Regions from separate parts of the Homo sapiens genome. Here region 2 is linked to region 1. The links are contacts of gene promoters, found by promoter capture Hi-C in human tissues and cell types (Jung and others, 2019). All regions are on one chromosome and are shown on one strand. Each heading gives the region's core, a stretch centred on a gene start or on the middle of the fragment in contact. The rest is flanking DNA. Distances are from core to core; before and after follow the strand shown. Region 1 holds the start of TSHZ1 (teashirt zinc finger homeobox 1). Region 2 overlaps LOC105372210 (a long non-coding RNA gene).

What was found. The method cuts DNA at HindIII sites, captures the fragments that hold promoters and counts their contacts. A contact is called where the count stands out against the background at its distance.
Region 2: a contact is called between a fragment that was not itself captured here and the fragment with the promoter of TSHZ1 in region 1, in 1 of the 25 tissues and cell types used here (dorsolateral prefrontal cortex).

What each region holds. Positions count from the first base shown.
Region 1 is chr18:75,208,695-75,212,066 of GRCh38, reverse strand. TSHZ1 (teashirt zinc finger homeobox 1) reads right to left here and starts at 1,270. Exons shown (of 2, transcript NM_001308210.2): 1 at 151-1,270. The coding sequence starts at 190. PTGR3 (prostaglandin reductase 3) reads left to right here and starts at 2,928. Exons shown (of 2, transcript NM_175907.6): 1 at 2,928-3,217. The coding sequence starts at 3,009. RefSeq lists silencers at 1-276, 2,214-3,253, 3,279-3,372 and enhancers at 1,159-1,453, 2,493-3,372. The HindIII fragment of the contact is 23,508 bases long and covers 1-3,372 here.
Region 2 is chr18:76,236,490-76,239,621 of GRCh38, reverse strand. The region is part of intron 1 of LOC105372210 (a long non-coding RNA gene); the gene reads left to right. The region is part of intron 1 of LOC105372209 (a long non-coding RNA gene); the gene reads right to left. Among named protein-coding and RNA genes, the nearest start is that of LINC01893, 29 kb to the right of the region's middle. The HindIII fragment of the contact is 3,834 bases long and covers 1-3,132 here.

The sequences.
Region 1 (3,372 bases), core at 21-2,520:
CTCCAGACGACTGTGGCCAGCGCAGGCTGGGCCTCCCCTCCCCAGCTTGGGGCGGCCCGCGGCCCACGTCCCGCACCTCGGCCCGCGAAGCCCCCTCCTCCTGCTCCTCCCGGCGCCCACTCCCCGCGGCGCGGGCCGCGCGCCCGTTACCTGCCGAGCGCCGGGGGGCCTGCTGCTTCCTCCTCGGCATGCTGCTCGGCCGCCGCAGCCGTCGCCTCAGCCGCCGCCGGAGTTCGCGGGGCGCGGGGACGCGGGGCCCCGGGCGCGGGCGCAACTCCGCGGCGCGCCCAACTTTGGCCTCGTCCCCGCGGGCTCCGGGCTCCGGGCGCGCCGCGGACCGCGGGGAGCCGCTCGCATGGACCGCCGCGCCCGGGGCCGCTCAGGAGGCGGCGGCGGCGGCCGCGCGGCCCGCTTCCCGGCGCCGGGCTGCGGGCGGAGCGCGCGGGGCCTGGGCGCCGAGCCCGGAGTCATCCCCGGCGCGGGCCGCGGGCGCAGCAGCGGGCGCTCGGCGGGCCGGCCCGCGGCCCGCGCTCCATGCTGCCGCCTCCCCGCCGCCGCGCTGCTGCTGGGCGGGCGCTCCTCCCGGCGCGCCGCTCCGGGCGCTCCCCTGCGCCTTCTTCCGCGAGCCGAGAGTCGCCGAGCGCAACTTTCTCTCCCCCTCTCTCCTCGCTGTTTGGGGGTCGCGGCGAGTGTTTTTAGTGCGCGGGTCGCAGCTTTCTCATTGTGCGCCAGCGAGGCCGATGCAGGCTGTCCTTTTCCTCCCCGCACTTAGTCTAAGAGGAAGAAAGCAAACAAGACAGAGGAGTGAAGCCCCCGTACATACATGCGCCGGGGGGAGATGTCAGGCGCTGCTCCACCTTCCAAACAGTCACAGATCAAACAGTGTCACCCCGCCGGAGCGCCACTTGGTGCCCCGCGCTTCCACCCGGGGGGCTTGGCCGCCAGGATCGCCGCTTCTTCCAATGCGAAATCTAATGCAAACACATTTTGATCATGGATTTTTGGCCGGTCTTGATCTTCCAACAGAAAAAAATTTGAAAAATACACAAAAAGCACCCCCCCCTCCAAGAAAAAAAAAAGGCAACAACAACCCGGAGAGTGTGTGCAAAGGGGGTGAAGAGCAGACATTCACTGGGTGGGCGAGATGAGCGTGGACTGTCCCCCCCCCCCTCAAACTCCTGGGAGAGAGGGAGATGCACTCTCGCTCTCTCCTCTTTTCAGTGAAATATAACACACATTCGGATCGCAGAGCTTTCAGACAGTCTCAACTGATAGACAGACACATCGAGCTGCTTTTCCTGCTTCAGTTTTTACTCCTCCTCCTCTCGCCAACGTCACCCTGACAATTACAAATAGGTCTCTCACAAACCATACCTGTCAATCTTTTTAATTGCTTTGTTTTCTTTTTTTCGGAGCTAAACAATATGACAAAAAAAAGAAATCTTAATACAGCATAACATAAAAGATTGTACATTGGAGGAATTCATTCAGTGTTGTTATTGTAACCCACTGGCTGATACCGGGTAAAACCCATATGCTCTAAGTTAAGTAGACATTAGTTCCTGCAGATTTTTAAACCTGTTAGTTCCCCCCCAACACACACACATACACATACACACACTTGCACATTCATACACACGCAACCACGTGCATCCAAACTACCCTTGGGTGAAGCATGTCCTACATTTGGGGGGAAAAATATCTGTGTCGCTTTTGCAATCTCAGGTTGGGGGGTTAGATTTGGCTGGGGAGGAGCCCAGAGTAGCTTTTATATTTTGGTAATTCGTGGGTAACTGAAAAGCAAGATATTTTTAAAATTAAATTTTACAATTTAAATAAAAATGTAAAGATGGACTTAGTTCATCACAGAAAAGTGTGGAAATATTTAATTTGGCCCCTCTATAAAAAGTGAATTGACATTTGGTCCATGCACGCCAGTAGGGAGAAAACGGACACGATGGAACGACAGATCTTTCTAGCTGGGTTCGAAAATGAGGTCCTCACACAGCAGTGCAACGTCTCCAATTCAGTTAAGTCCCTCGGCATCCCCACGTAGAACTTTAAAATGTGTCTGTGCTCTGGGAATTTGGCCTTCTGGTTTTCTATATGTGTGTTCTCTCCCAATGGGAAACCTGTAACAGTCTTGTAGATCTACTTAAAACATTCATGGAAAAACATGAAATCTAGGCCAAAATAAATAAAATGGCTTAGTTCCTGCAACTTGCATGGGACAGACCGTGGACAGAAAGCACGCGCAAGGGGTTCCGGGGACAGGAAGCCACCAGCCTGGGGAGCGGGAGGCACTGGACATTTCCCCGCCCCGCGGTCGGTACGGGTGCGCGTGCGGCAGCGGCGGCAGGGGCTCCCCGCCCTGCCCGGGGTCCCCGGTCGTGCCCCGCCGCCCGGGCCGCGCTCGGGGTTGATTCGTACCACCTTGCAAGGAAGTGAACGCTTCGCACGGGAAGGGGAGGCGCCTGCGCCGGCCGCCGCGCAGCTCCGGGGACGCCCGGGGCTGCCGCCGGCTCGGGGCCGCAGACGACCGCGGGACGCGCGAGTCCCCCGTCCCCCCTTGCCCGCCGTCCCCCCCGCCACCCTTGCCCGAGAGGAGTCAAATCCGGCTTTTAGAGCTCGGGGAGGGTGGGGATATCCGGTGCCTCTCCCGCGCCAGGAGGAAGGGGGAGGGCGGAGAGGATCCTTGGCCAGTCTGCGCCGAGCAGATTCAAACCAAAACAAAAAGATTAAAGGAGCAGCGGCCGGGGCGGCAGCGGTCCCCAGGCCGGGACACCCGGGGTGGTGCGCCCGGGTTCGCGGGGGCTGCGCCGGCGCCGGGGAGGCGGGGGGAGCGGGAGCGGGCGACGCGGGGAAGGGGGGAGCCAGGGGGAGGGCGCCGGCCGGAGGAGGGGCGGACCCGCCCGCCCTAGCCGAGCAGAGCACAGCCGAGCCGAGCGGCCCGGGCGGGGGCCGACCCCGGCCAGCGTCGGCGCAGAGAGCGGGCGGAGGCGCAGGCCATGCTGCGGCTGGTGCCCACCGGGGCCCGGGCCATCGTGGACATGTCGTACGCCCGCCACTTCCTGGACTTCCAGGGCTCCGCCATTCCCCAAGCCATGCAGAAGCTGGTGGTGACCCGGCTGAGCCCCAACTTCCGCGAGGCCGTCACCCTGAGCCGGGACTGCCCGGTGCCGCTCCCCGGGGACGGAGACCTCCTCGTCCGGAACCGGTGAGCCCGGCGCCCCCCAACCCCACGCCCCCGTTCTCGCCCCGGGCTCGCGCCGCGCCGCGCCGCTCCCGCAGTCCCCAGCCCGCCCGCGTGCCCACACTCCGGCGCGCGCTCGGGCGCACAGCCTGAGTTTGCGAGATCCCGGGAAGTTGAAC
Region 2 (3,132 bases), core at 54-2,553, 1.0 Mb before region 1:
TCTCTGTCATTTTTGTTAAAGTAACTTTATTAAGGTATGATTGACATGTAAAAAGCTTACATATTTTATGTGTACAACATGGTGAGTTTGGGGATAAATACACACCTGTGAAACTATCATCACTGTCAGGGCTATAAACATATCCATCACCCCCCAAAATGTCTTCATGCCCCTTTTATTATCATTATAATTTTTAAAGCAAATTTTAAGTATACAATACAGTATTGCTAGCTATAGGTATTATGCTATATAGTAGACTTTCAGAACTTATTTATCCTGCATAACTGAAACTTTGTGTCCTTTGACCATCACCTGCCCATTTCCTCCTCCTTCTAGCCCCTGGAAGTCATCACTGTATTCTATGTTTCTATAAGTATGACTATTTTAGATTTCACATATAAGTGAGGTCATGTAGTACTTGTCTTTCTTTATGTGGCTTATTTCAGTTAGCATAGTGTTGTCCAGGTCCATTCATAATGTCATAAAAGGTAGAAAATCTCAGTCTTACTTGGTATACTTAGACCACTTACAGTTAATATAATCACTTATGTGTTAGGGCATATGTCTGTCATTTTACTTTTTGTTTGTCTCTCTTGGTTTTGTTTCTCTGTTGTCTTCTCTCTACTTTTCCATGGGTAACTTGAAAACTCTTTAGAATTCCATTTCTATTTATTTATAGTTTTTTAGTGATTTCTTTGCATGCCTTCTTTAGTGGTTCCTCTAGGCATTACATTATATACATAACTTAAAGTCTACGGGTGATGTCATTTTACCAGTTTGAGTGAACTGTACATTGTATACTGTTTAAAGAACTTCCTGCCGGGCTTAGTGGCTCACGCCTGTAATCCCAGCACTTAGGGAGGCCGAGGCGGGCGGATCACGAGGTTAGGAGAACGAGACCACGGTGAAACCCCGTCTCTACTAAAAATTAGCCAGGCGCGGTGGCGGGTGCCTGTGGTCCCAGATACTCGGGAGTCTGAGCCAGGAGAATGGCGTGAACCCAGGAGGCGGAGCTTGCAGCGAGCCAAGATCGCGCCACTGCACTCCAGCCTGGGCGACAGAGTGAGACTCCGTCTCAAAAAAAAAAAAAAAAAAAAAAAAAAAAAAAAAAAAAGAAAAAGAACTTCCTATAGACATTTTCTTGGGAGAGATCTGTTGGCAACAAATTCTTTTAGCTATTTTTCATCTGAAAGTATTTAGTTTCTCCATCATTCCTGGATATAGAATTATGAGTTGACAGTTCTTTTCTTTCAGAACCTGAAAAATGTCATAGCAATTTCTTCTGGACTACATGGTTTCTTATCAGAAATCTGCTATCTTTTCAATTGTTTTTCCCCTTTATGTAAGATGTCATTTCACTCCTGCTGCTTTTTTTTTTGACTCTAGTTTTCAGATTTTGACTATGATATATCTTCTCATGGATTTCATTGGGTTTGTCTTGTTTGGGAATTTTCTCTGCTTCTTGAATCCATAGGTTTATGTCTGTGCAACTTTGGGATATTTTTCAGTTATTATCTTATCGAGTAAACTCTACCTTCTCTCTCCTCTCCTTCCCAGACTCTGGCGCCATGAATATTAGCTATTTAGTGATAGCAACAGGCTCTTTGTTTTTCAGGCTGCTTTTTCTCTGTTGTTCCAGTGGAATAATTTCTATTGTTTTATATTCCAGTTCACTGATTCTTTCCTCTGTCCCTTACATTTTGCTGTTGAGTCTATCCATTCAGTTTTAAAATTTTAGTTGTTTTCTTCAGTTCTACAGTTTTCGTTTAGTCCTTCTGTATATGTTCTCTTGTTTTGCTGAGACTTTCTTAATTTTTTTCAAAATGTACATGCTCATTGAAGCATTATTAGGATGACTACTTCAAAATCTTTCACAGGTAATTCTAATGTCTGTACCATCTCAGTATTGGTGTCTATTGATTGTATTTTCTTATTGAAATTGAGATATTCTTGGTTTTCCTATGATGAATAAGTATTGGTTACAACCTAAGCATTTGTGTAGTATGTTATGAGTCTCTGGATTCCACTTAAGTCTCCTATTTTAGCAGACCTTCTCTGACACTTCTATGGCACAGGAAGGAAGGGTGGGGATGCCACTCATTACAACCAGGTAGGGTGGAAGTCCAAGTTCCCCACTTGGTCTCTGTTGATAGAGGAAGAGGTAAAGGCATCTCATTAGTGCTAAATGTGGTTGGGAGCTCAAACTCCCCACTAGGTCTTGCTGATACCTAACCTGGCTGGGAGGGACAGTGTGCTTGTGTCTGCATGCTATATGGCCTTCACTGACATTATGGTGGGATGGTTTTGTTCCTATTGTTTAGTGATAAAAATCCTGACTGTCCAGGAGGTCACTTCTGATACCATGACTGTGGGGAGGGGAAGGTTTCTTTGTTACCGTGGGTGAGCTGGAAGTACAGACTCACCATTTGGCTTTCCTAGGCAACATCATGGAACAGGGTTTGGGTGCCTCATTATGGCTCTGTCATGATGGAAGTCCAAACTTTCCGTGTGCTGGCAGGGGTGGGAGTGGGCTGCGGATTTTTGTGGTATTTGGCTGGAATAAAATGAGTTTCACTTAAGAGTTTTCACTCTTATTAAGCAGTGCCTCCTCTGGTCTTTGTCTATGGGGAACAAGCTTTCCTCTCTGTTTCTTTCTGTGTGCCCATGGATATTTCTGGGTTTCTGGCTTCTCTAGTAACAAGTCTAGTATATATGAGGCAAAAACCAAATAAATAAATCACCACCACCAACAAAAACCACCACTGTGTGTTTCCTGGGGTTCTAAGGTCCTGCTGGTGGTCTGTTTTCTTCTCTTCAACTTTTAGAGTCTTTTGAAGTTTGCTTTATATGTAATGTGCAGGAATTTGATCTGCTCTTAGCAGGAGGAATAGAAAAAATACGACTATTTCATATTTCTGCAAGTGGAATATTCAAAAATAATTTTAAATGAGTAGTCTATGATGTTATATTTACTGCTGATTATGTCAGTACTTCCATATTAGCGTACCTATCTTTATAAGTGTTCGAAGAATATTTTCTCCTTCTTTCCTTCCTTTGTTCCTATAGTTCTCCTTTATTTTTCATTCTTCCTTCCCTTCATTTCTTTTTTCTCATCATCCCTCAATTTTTGTT